Linked DNA regions of Homo sapiens: all the other regions are linked to region 1. The links are contacts of gene promoters, found by promoter capture Hi-C in blood cells and fetal thymus (Javierre and others, 2016). All regions are on one chromosome and are shown on one strand. The core of a region is centred on a gene start or on the middle of the fragment in contact, and the rest is flanking DNA. Distances in the headings are between cores, read along the strand shown.

Region 1 (3,916 bases), core at 604-3,103:
CAGTGATTCAGAAGTGGAAAAGGGGGGTTTGAGAGAATTCTTGTCTTTTGACCTTGCTTTCTTTTATGACGTAGAAAACTTGGCTGAGAGAAGCAGACATCCCATAGAGAATTCAGAAAAAGTGTCAAGGGTTTGAAAAACCAATTAGAGAGAGGTAAAACAAACTGACTAGGAAAAAATGCAAGTTTTGTTGAGTAGTTTAGAAGGCCCAGTCAAGTTCCCAATCACCGAAAAAGCATATCCAAAAGGTCCAAGTCTTAGCTTTAACACTTAGAAGTTGGGTGACTTTGGCCGGGCACGGTGGCTCACACCTGTAATCCCAGCACTTTGGGAGGCCATGGCAGGTGGATCACCTGAGGTCAAGAGTTCAAGACCAGCCTGGCCAACATGGTGAAACCCCGTCTCTACTAAAAATACAAAAAATTAGCCGGGTGTGGTGGTGGGTGCCTGTAATCCCAGCTACTTGGGAGGCTGAGGCAGGAGAATCACTTGAACCTGGGAGGCAGAGGTTGCAGAGAGCCGAGATCGCACCATTTCACTCCAGCCTGGGCAATAGGAATGAAACTCCGTCTCAGAAAAAAAAAAAAAAAGAAAAGAAAAGAAAAGAATTTGGGTAACTTGGGCAAATGATTTATCTTCAGCTCCCATTTTTTCCACAAATAAAATGAACATAATGACATTGATTAACATGACTATAAATTATTAAATACTATTCAATTAATACCAGCTTGGGTTTGAACACCCAAAGTCAAGATTTTCACTTACAAATTACTATGCAGCCTGGCACACTCAGAGGCTGGCTATACTATCCCTTTAGCAATTATATGGGCTCTGCTCCTTTCATTGCAACAGCAGGGTTTGTTCTGTTAGTCTTTCACTCTGCCATGTAGCTTTATTTTTCACAGCTGTCCTCAATACGCCAAAGCTGTACACTACACCACTCCCCTTGAATCTTGTCTATGCACTGGCATCTCTGCTGCAAATCCTCCTGTAAGACCACTGTCCACCATATTCTCCTTAGCTTGCATCCTCAAGATCATTCCTGCCTAGAGATATGGAGAGTGGCCAAGACAATGGAATCATGGTGAGGCAGGAAGCTGCACTTCTTATGAAAGTCTTTATGGTCTCATGATATCTTTAGGCTAAGAAAAAGCAGTGCTATACATTACTGAGCATCCCAGGTCAACCAGTGAGCCATCAAATGGCAGCGTCTACAGAAGAACACTGGACGTCATTTAATCCAATCCCATAGTTTTACAATTGAAGCAACTTCGGTTCAGAGAAGTAAAAAAAAAAAACAAAAACAAAAACAAAACAAAACAAAAGCTTCCTCATGTCCGCTTTGTTATTTAGGGACAGAGAAAGAACAAGAACTGAGGTCTTCATCCCCTTTCAGCACCCATTCTTTCACATTAAGCTCTGATGCTTCTCTCTGATGGCTTAAAACATTTTCCAGTTCTAACCAACAGACCCAATTGGACTATCGTGTAATCACTGATCTTACCTTCTTTATGGATAAATAAGCCTGCTCTTTCATCTCTTTTCTGGGCTGCTGTTTGTTCAACCAATTTTTCAAACCTGTTCAAAGCCTTTTTGAAATTGCTCATCTGAAGTGCCATGTTGAGACGCTTTTCCTTCCTGATATCCATAGGGACATAGGGGATCTTTTACTTCTGTACAGAAAGAATACTGCAAGTTTACCAATTTGGAAAACTTTCCAGTTGTTACAGTGCCTCCCTGCTGTCTCAGTTTTTGCCCTAGGTCTAATTCCTTTGATCTTAAAATCCCATAGTGCGGGTAGGAGTAAGAGTTGCCACTAGGATGTTAGCAGGGAGGAAAGCTGATTTAGGTCTGATGCATTTCATACAGACAAACATTTCAGTAAAAATCCTGACCTCACAATGTCATCAGTGTCCTTCATAGGGTCCTCATTGCATCATAATATCTCTGTAACATCCTACTTCCTTCATAAGGAGGAGATTGAGATATTTTTTTCCCCACAGACTGTGTGTGTGTGTGCGCGTGCACATGTGTGTGTTGTGTATACTGCTTGAGAGGGAAAAGGAATGAGTAAATAACAAGTAAGAAAACTGGGTAATACTTTCTCCCTCGTGTATCTCTTCTCACCTCAAACCTTTTGCCTTCCTCACAATACCGCGGAAAGTAAAGTTTGGCCAGGCACGGCGGCTCATTCTTGTAATCCCAGCACTTTGGGAGGCCGAGGTGGGTGGACCACCTGAGGTCAGGAGTTCAAGACCAGCCTGGCCAACATGGTGAAACCCCCGTCTCTACTAAAAATACAAAAATTAGCTGGATGTGGTGGCGGGCACCTGTGATCTCAGCTACTCAGGAGGCTGAGGCAAGAGAATCACTTGAACCTGGGAGTCAGAGGTTACAGTGAGTTGAGATCACACCACTGCACTCCAACCTGGGTGACAGAGTGAGACTTCCTCTCAAAAAAAAAAAAAAGTAATATTCACACTTATTCTTGCCACTGTACTGGATATGGAAATTCGAACTTCTAAAGATGAAATGTATTTCAGCACCTGTCATTTCTACCACAAACATTTTTAGAGGTCATAGGGAATACAAATGCTCTTCTTCCTTTGTGCATTGTCCTTCGATTGAAATAATAAAGTGAGCCAAGGATAAGGAAGGAGTGGCTTCTGATTATGAGGACAGCTTTTCAAGGTAAGAGGTCAGATGAATTAGAAGAGGCCTTTCTGCACATCTCCTTCCCAGTCATTGCAATCTCCAATCCGACTTAGTCCAAATGCTATTGACTCCGGTTTTCCAATTTTCAACTTTTTATGGGAAGGAGAAGTTGTTTAATGTTTCTCAACAATTAGTTAACTTCCTATGGCTTAGGTGAGTTAGATAAATTTCCTACCCCTTGGTAGTCCATCTTTTAAAACATTCTTCAAGAACTTGCATTCAGAGATGAAGCAGATGGCATTTCAGAGCACCTCCAATTCCAGTACTGTCTTCTTGGTGTCCACCTCTAACTATCTGTTAGGAGAGCGCAGTAAGATTTTATTTAAAGAAAAATCCCCCAACCCCATTTGTTTCTCCTCCTTTTTCCTTTAAAGCTTTCAAACCACTGTACAGTGATGTCTGGAGAACCACTCTTCCTACAATTCTAATGCATTCACCATTAATTCATCTAGGAAATATTTACTGAATACACACTTCATGCTAGAGGCTGTTTTAGACACTAAGGATACAGCAGTGAATAAAATAGCTTCTCAAGTTTATAGACTAATGCAGAAGACAGACAAACAAATAAATAATGTATCAGTGAGCAATTGTGCTACGAAGAGAGAGGAATTTTGTGTGTATTAGGGTGGGGGTAAAAATCAAAGTAAAAGAGGTAGGGAGATCAGGGAATTCCCCATTAATAGAAAGATTTCTGGGCAGAAACCTGAAAGAAGTGAGGTAGCAAGTCATGTGGATAAATGGTAGAAGGATGTTCTAGGGACAGCAGGCGTAAAGTCCTGAGATTGGTGTGTGCTTCACATATCTGAGAAACGACAGAGGCCAGTGTGACTGAGGTGGTGTGGGATGAGAGAGAGAGGTAGAGAGAGAAGGCAAGAGAGTCAGGGGGTGGCATCCAGATCACGTAGGATCTTATTGGCTGTTTTAGGACTTTGGCTTTTACTCTGAGATGGGATGTTTTTGAGCAGAACAGTGACATGATCTGACGTGCATTTGAAAAGAATCATTCCAGCTGCTTTGCGGAGAATAAACTGAAAGGGAGAGAGGGTAGAAGCCGGGAAGGCAGTTAAGTGGAAATTTCAGTAATGCAAGTAAGAGATGACAGTGGTTGAGATTAGGGCACTAGTGACGGAGGTTGTGCGAAGTGGTCAGATTGTGTGAAGGTAGATGTGACAGGTGTGCTAATAGATCAGATGGGGGT
Region 2 (3,916 bases), core at 1,027-3,526, 360 kb before region 1:
CCATCTCGGCTCACTGTAAGCTCCGCCTCCCGGGTTCACACCATTCTCCTGCCTCAGCCTCCCAAGTAGCTGGGACTGCAGGCACCCACCACCACACCCGGCTAATTTTTTTATATATATATATTTAGTAGAGACGGGGTTTCGCCGTGTTAGCCAGGGTGGTCTCGATCTCCTGACCTCGTGATCCACCCGCCTCGGCCTCCCAAAGTGCTGGGATTACAGGCGTGAGCCACTGCGCCCAGCCAGGAAAAACTATTAATTAATAGTATTACAAGGCTACTGCAGATGCCCTTAGCATAATATAGAAATGATTGAAAGCCATGCCGTATTCCATTCAATCTGCAAATATCACCCAACCACATTCACTCCTTCTCAGGAATTAAATGACCTGCATGTGTTAAAAAAGGGCGGCCAGGCATAGTGGCTTACAGCTGTAACCCTAACACTTTGGGAGGCCGAGGTGGGTGGATCGCTTGCGCTCAGGGATTCGAGACCAGCCTGGGAAACATGGTAAAACCCTGTCTCTACCAAAAACACAAAAGTTGGCCGGGCGTGCTGGTGTGCAACTTTGGTCCCAATTACGTGGGAGGCTGAGTCGGGAGGATCACTGGAGCCTGGGAAGTTGAGGTTGCAGTGAGCTGTGATCATGCCACTGCAGTCCAGCCTGAGCAACAGAGCAAGACCCTGTCTGGGGAGAAAAAAAAAAAAAGCATTTTCCCTCTTTTTCAGTCCTCAGCAAGATTTGAGTGACAGTCCCTCCTTTGAGGCATACACCTTGCTTCCATCACACAGTCTCTGGTTTCACCCCATCTCATTAATTCACTTGTGTCTCATTGGCAGGCTCAGCCTCTTCTCTACCGTCTTTGATGATTAGAATTGCTCTAGGCTCCGACCTAGCTCCCCTCTTTTCTTACTAGATATTTTCTCCCCAGGCATCTCAGCAACACCCATGTCTTCAGCTCTCTTCAACATGAACTCCAGTTGCTTAAGCCATAAACTAAGAGTTATTTCATTCTATGCCGTTGATCTTCTTAAGCCAAACTTCCAACTTTTCTCCACTAAACAATGACAATAGCCCCACCTCCAGTCTATTCTCTGCAGTCCTACCCGAACACGTTTTTCAAACTGCAAATTGAATCCATTCTTCTCTGTTTAGGTGGTTTCAGTGGTTTGCATTGACTTTACAATAAAAATCACACTGTAGGGCCCCTGAGACTTCAGCCCCATTCCACATGGCTTTCCTCCTGGAGGTCCCAGCCACAGTGGCCTCCAGTACTTTCTTCTCTTCACTCTCTCTCTCTCTCTTTTTTTTTTTCCGCTTTAAGAGATGGGGCCTACATTGTCTAGGCTGGCTTTAAACTCCTGGGTTCAGGCAATCATCCCACCTTGGCCTCCTGAGTAGTTGAGACTACAGGCACATGCCAGCACATTGGCTTCTAGCACTTTCTTAAACAAACCATATCCCCTCTTTCCAAAGCTATTACCATTGCCTCAAATACTGCCCTACCCCCTCTTCCCACCTCATGCCATTGCCTTGCTTTGCCTGGTTAACACCATATGACCTCAAATATCATTTTAGGAAAACTTCCTTGACCTTCCTCTACATCAACTAAGTCAGGTTCCCTAAGAAATTCTCTCCCAGCACCACGGGCCCCTCTTCATCACATGTAGCACAGTTGAGTTCCTTTGGTCATTATCTGCTGCCCCACTCAGCTGTAGGCTCCCTGCTTGATGTAAGAGATGCTGTTGGGTTTTTTTTTTTTTTAAGACGGAGTTTCGCTCTTGTCACCCAGGCTGGAGTGCAATGTGCGATCTCGGCTCACTGCAACCTCTGCCCCCCAGGTTCAAGCAATTCTCCTGCCTCTGCCTCCCGAGTAGTCAGGATTACAGGTGCCTGCCACCATGCCCGGCTAATTTTTATATTTTTTTAGTAGAGATGGGGGTTTCACCATGTTGGCCAGGCTGGCCTCGAACTCCCAAACTCAGTGATCCACCCGCCTTGGCCTCCTAAAGTGCTGGTATTACAGGCATGAGCCACTGGGTCCGGCCTAGTTTTTACTTTTCTGTTGTATCCCTATAACATACTAGTACACCTATCACAAGTTAGATACGATAAATATTGGGGAATTAAGAATGAATGAATATTGTTGCCGGGAGCCGTGTCTCGCGTCTGTAATCCTTGGGAGGCCGAGGCAGGTGGATCACCTGAGGTCAGGAGTTTGAGACCAGCCTGGCCAACATGGCAAAACCCCATCTCTACTAAAAATACAAAAATTAGCTGGACGTGGTGGCACACACCTGTAATCCCAGCTACTTGGGGGGCTGCAGCAGGAGAATCGCTTGAACCCGGGCAGTGGAGGTTGCAGTGAGCCGAGATTGTGCCATTGCAATCCAGCCTGGATGACAGAGCAAGACTCTGTCTCAAAAAAAAAAAAAAAAAAGAATTAATATTGTTGTGAAGCCAAAATAATTGTCTCCATTTTTTTAAGAGATGAGACCTTGCTATGCTGCCCAGGCTGGACAATAACTTGTCTTCATTTTTACAGATAGAAAGCAGAAGTTCACTAGCAAGAAAGAAACTCCCAGAATCAGGGAGCTGAGACATGTCTGACTCAGCTTGCATTAAGGCTGTAGCCAAAGCTGATACATTCCCAGGGCTTCAGAGCAGCAGACTCTTGTGAGAGGTCACTGTTGCATCCTTCTCCAACCTCTAAAGGTGCTAGAAGTGGGTTTCCTAGTAGAGAACAGGACTAATGCCCAGTTTCCTCCAGGTCCAGGCAGATCCTGAGCACCACAGATGCTGAAAACAAGAAATGCCTCTGGCTCTTGAAAAAAGCAATTTGACAGCTGGCTACTTCTAGGAAAGCCTGCAGTCCTTCCCCAGCCAGCTTCCAGACTCCTTCACCCAACACATTAGATATTTTCCCCCCTTTTTCTACTTTCCTGTGTCTAAGGGATTACTAAGCCCTTAATGCCTCCTGATGTGAGTGCATCATTCCTCATCCTGGGTTGTGCTGTGGGAGTGGGACGCAAACACCTGCAAGGCTGAGTCACAGAGCGGGAGAAGCTGGGCTTTCTGGCAGTGGATGGCGGGAGCTGGGAAAAAGGCCGCAGCTCATTCCTTCTGGCAGGCAAGGACCTGGAAACAGCCTGTCCGGCCACAGTCTGGGCCACTTGGCCTTCATTTCCAGTGGTGTACCTGTGAGAAAAGTGGTTGGGAGCTGGGTTGTTTGTACTTTGGGGGAATCTTAGGCACATATTCTGTTTTAATAAGAAGTTGGGGGTCCATTCAGCATAAAGAATAGAGGTTTTGTGCATGTAGAGCACTAACCCTGGAGCTGCTAGGGGAATGTTTCAGGAACTATTTTCCTTATGATGGTGATGGTTCTATTTTAAGCCAACTTTAAAAATTCTAGAACAGAGGCCAGGTACGGTGGCTCATGCCTGTAATCCCAGCACTTTGGGAGGCCGAGGAGGGCGGATCACCTGAGGTCAGTAGTTCGGGACCAGCCTGGCCAACATGGTGAAACCCTGTCTCTACTAAAAATACAAAAATTAGCCGGGTGTGGTGGCAGGCACCTATAACCCCAGCTACTTGGGAGGCTGAGGCAGGAGAATTGCTTGAACCCAGGAGGCGGAGGTTGCAGTGAGCCGAGATCATGCCACTGCACTCCAGCCTGGGTGACAGAGCAAGACTACATCTCAAGAAATAATAATAATAAATAAAATAAATAAATAATAGAAATAAAAATAAATTCTAGAATGGAAAGCATTATGTCATAACGGGGTTCAGTGGCATAAAGTCATAGACTCAAATCTCACCAACTGAGTGATCTTGAGCAAATTATTTCAACTCTCTGAGTTTCAGGTGTCTTTTTCTTTTCCAGAAAGATTAAATAAGAAAGTGGAATAATCA
Region 3 (3,916 bases), core at 491-2,990, 270 kb before region 1:
TACTGTGATTAAAAAAAAAAAAAATCCAGCCTGGCACTGTGGCTCACTCCTATAATCCCGGCACTTTGGGAGGCCAAGGTGGGTGGATCACTTGAGGTCAAGAGTTTGAGACCAGCCTGGCCAACATGGTGAACCTCCGTCTCTACCAAAAATACAAAAATTAGCCGGGAGTGGTGGTGCACCCCTACAGTCTCAGCTACTTGGGAGGCTGAGGTGGGACGATCACTTGGGCCCAGGAGGTGGAGGTTGCAGTGAGCTGAGATTGTGCCACTGCACTCCAGCCTGGGTGACAGAGCGGAACTCTGTCTCAAAAAAAAAAAAAAAAAAAAAAAAAACTCCAAGGCAGAGATCTTCCCATGGCTGTATCGGCTGCCTTGTTTTGATTTATAACTGTAGATTCTCTTCCATAAACTGAAAAGTTTGCAAAAATTACTGTTTCATGGCTTATCTAGGAATCATATCGAAAATGTTGCTGTTATTTTTAGTGTGGCACAATAACTTTGTATGCTGTATTTCAATCTAAATAGAATTTTCTTTTTTTTTTTTGAGACGGAGTTTCGCTCTTGTTGCCAGGCTGGAGTGCAGTGGTGTGAACTCGGCTCGCTGCAACATGCGCCTCCCGGGTTCAAGTGATTCTCCTGCCCCGGCCTCCTGAGTAGCTGGGATTACAGGCGCATGCCACCATGTCTGGTTAATAGAATTTTCTAATGTTAAAAAATGAAAATAAAATGCAAAGCCATGATTTGTGGTAGCCTCTTGCTCATCGAGGGGGAAGTGTAAACCTAAAGCCCTTTCTCATCCCTCCCTCTTTAGCTCCGTCTCTGCTGTCTCTTTTCCACTTTAACACACGGGGTGAGTCCCACACTAGCTAAACCACCCCTCTTCTTACAGGTCATACTGTTTCTATTTTTGTTTTTTTTTGTTTTTTTTTTCTGAGACAGAGTTTCTCTCTTGTTGCCCAGGCTGGAGTGCAATGGTGCGATCTCGGCTCACCACAATCTCCGCCTCCCGGATTCAAGCAATTCTTCTGCCTCAGGCTCCTGAGTAGCTGGGATTATAGGCACCCGCCACCACGCCCAGCTAATTTTGTATTTTTAGTAGAGATGGGGTTTCTCCATGTTGGTCAGGCTGGTCTCGAACTCCCAACCTCAGGTGATCTGCCTGCCTTGGCCTCCCAAAGTGCTGGGATTACAGGCGTGAGTCAACACACCTGGCCCATGCTGTTTCTTTATGTTCCTCCTCTGCCCCATCTGCTCCCTAGACTAAGAATTAATCTCTAGACTCTTCATCATCTGCAGTTACTTCCTCGTCTTGGAAGATTCCACTCAAGTGCCATGTTCTGCATGAAAACTCACCTGCCCCTCTACTCCGACTCCAAGCCCAGGCACAACTGGCTACTCTCCCCATTGCAGCCCCACCATTCCATATCAGGCCCTCTGTATCATCCTGCCTAGAACACTCTGTTGCCGTTTTCCTTTTTCTTTCTTTTCTTTCCTTTCCTTTTCTTTCCTTCCTTTCCTTCCTTTCTTTCTTCCTTTCTTCCCTTCCTTCCTTCCTTCTTTCTTTCTTTTCTTTTCTTTCTGACAGAGTCTTGCTCTGTCACCAGGCTGGAATACAGTGGCATGATCTCGTCGCACTGCAACCTCTGCCTCCTGGGTTCACGCCATTCTCCTGCCTCAGCCTCCTGAGTAGCTGGGATTACAGGCACGTGCCACCACACCCAGCTAATTTTTGTATTTTTAGTACAGACAGGGTTTCACCATGTTGGCCAGGATGGTCTCCATCTCCTGACCTTGTGATCCGCCTGCCTCAGCCTCCCAAAGTGCTGGGATTACAGGTGTGAGCCACTGCACCCGGCCCTATTGCAGTTTTCTGTGTACATGTTTGTCTTCCCCACCTGGATGCAGAAACCTGAGCTGAGTCTTCTGCTACAGTGGCCCACAGTTAGGTGCCACAAAAATCCAAAAGATACATTTTTATATTTTTTGACAAATGAAAAAAATATATCAGCCTAGGGCCGTGGCTCATGCCTGTAATTCCAGCACTTTGGGAGGCCAAGGTGGGAGTATTGCTTGATCCCAGGAGTGTGAGACCAGCCTGGGCAACTTAGCAAGATCCTGTTCCTTCCAAAAAAAGTATAAAAAATTGGCTGGGCGCAGTGGCTCATGCCTATAATCCCAGCACTTTGGGAGGCCGAGGTGGGTGGATCAGGAGTCATAAGTTCAGGAGTTCGTGGAGGCCAAGGTGGGTGGATCACGAGGTCAGAAGTTCATGTTCAGCCTGATCAACATGGTAAAATCCCGTCTCTACTAAAAATACAGAAAATTAGTCGGGCATAGTGATGTGTGCCTGTAATGCCAGTTACTTGGGAGGCTGAGGCGGGAAAATTGCTTGAATCTGGGAAGTGGAGGTTGCAGTGAGCCGAGCTTGTGCCATTGTACTCCAGCCTGGGCAACAAGAGCGAAACTCTGTCTCAGGAAAAAAAAACAAAACACATATATATATATAATTAGCTGGGCATAGTGATACACACCTGTAGTCCTAGATATTGCAGAGGCTGAGGTGGGAGAATCACCTGAGCTCAGGAAGCTGAGGTTGTAGTTAATCGTGATCACGCCACTGCACTCCAGTCTGGATGTTGGAGTGGGACCTTGTCTCAAAAAAAAAAAAAAAAAAAAAAGGAAAAAATATATCATTTGGCATCATGAACAAATGATATAGTAATAGTGTTTTTTGTGTGCTTCCTCGCACATTTGTGAGCCTGCCTTCCCCATGGCTGACCCACCCCGTTCTGACCTTCAGCCGCCACCCTTGTGGCTTGTTGACTCTGCTAGTTCAATCATGAGCATTGGTGGATGATCAGACACTGGTTGCCCAGCTGGCATCCACCCCCCTCTACCCTCACCTATAAACGACTGGATTTTCACATCCCAGCTCCCCACCCTAGTGCATTTCAGAATCAATTCAGGCCACCCTGTCAAACTCTCACTCAGTTTGGTAGAGGACAAGGTTCACTCCTGTGGATTAAGGAGGACCAAGAGAATCCACTGTAGGGGTTAGACCATGAGCAACAGTGGAAAGAAATTGGGCAAACGTCCTCACATCACATGCAGCTCTGTAAAGTGTATGTGTTCCTAATGCCTGGTGGACCCAACCATCAACGATAGGAGTTCATCCTTGTTGCTCCTTCCCACTCGGCCAGTGTCAGCATACATGTTTTCTCACGTGGCCACACTATATTTTTCATGCAATATGCAGTGTAGGGCCGGGCGCAATGGCTCATGCCTGTAATTCCAGCACTTTGGAAGGCCGAGGTGGGTGGATCACCTGAGGTCAGGAGTTGGAGAGCAGCCTGACCAATGTGGTGAAACCCTGTCTCTACTAAAAATACAAAAATTAACTGGGCATGGTGGCGTGCACCTGTAATCCCAGCTACTCAGGAGGCTGAGACAGGAGGATTGCTTGAACCCAGGAAGTGGAGGTTGCAGTGAGCTGAGATCACGCCATTGCACTCCAGCCTGGGCAACAGAGTGAGACTCCATCTCAAAAAACAAAACAAAACAATATGCAGTGTGCACTCATGAAAGTGAAAAACAGACTCAGCTGGATTTCTGAACATGGTAGGGCCTTGGCCTGATGCAAGGCGTGAGTCACAGCTTCGCTTCCTTTGTGTCCTCACAGGACATCAGGGAAGGACCCGGTATGCCTCATCAGGGGCCTCTCCACTCCTTCCAGTCTCCTGGGGCTCCCTGGAGGGAGGGGAAAGGACTGATTTGGAGCAGGGAAGGGCCATGGGGCTTTTCGGTCAATGAGGCACAGCATTGTCTCTGGATTATACAGAATTTCCAGAGAAATGCACAGGAAAAGAGAAGAGTAGAAAAGTGAGAGGATTTCAGTCTCTGATTTTAGGAGGAAG

What was found. Contacts are between HindIII fragments. The CHiCAGO score rates a contact against its expected background, and 5 or more counts as called.
Region 2: a contact is called between a fragment that was not itself captured here and the fragment with the promoter of WDR64 in region 1, in 5 of 17 cell types (total B cells, total CD4 T cells, monocytes and 2 more). The highest score is 7.4, in total B cells.
Region 3: a contact is called between a fragment that was not itself captured here and the fragment with the promoter of WDR64 in region 1, in 5 of 17 cell types (activated CD4 T cells, naive CD8 T cells, naive CD4 T cells and 2 more). The highest score is 6.4, in activated CD4 T cells.

What each region holds. Positions count from the first base shown.
Region 1 is chr1:241,650,218-241,654,133 of GRCh38, reverse strand. It overlaps WDR64 (WD repeat domain 64), which reads right to left and starts at 1,853. Exons shown (of 28, transcript NM_001367482.1): 1 at 1,505-1,853. The coding sequence starts at 1,649. The HindIII fragment of the contact is 1,763 bases long and covers 1,329-3,091 here.
Region 2 is chr1:242,011,207-242,015,122 of GRCh38, reverse strand. No RefSeq gene overlaps it. Among named protein-coding and RNA genes, the nearest start is that of MAP1LC3C, 14 kb to the right of the region's middle. The HindIII fragment of the contact is 7,750 bases long and covers 1-3,916 here.
Region 3 is chr1:241,918,845-241,922,760 of GRCh38, reverse strand. No RefSeq gene overlaps it. Among named protein-coding and RNA genes, the nearest start is that of BECN2, 37 kb to the left of the region's middle. The HindIII fragment of the contact is 7,553 bases long and covers 1-3,916 here.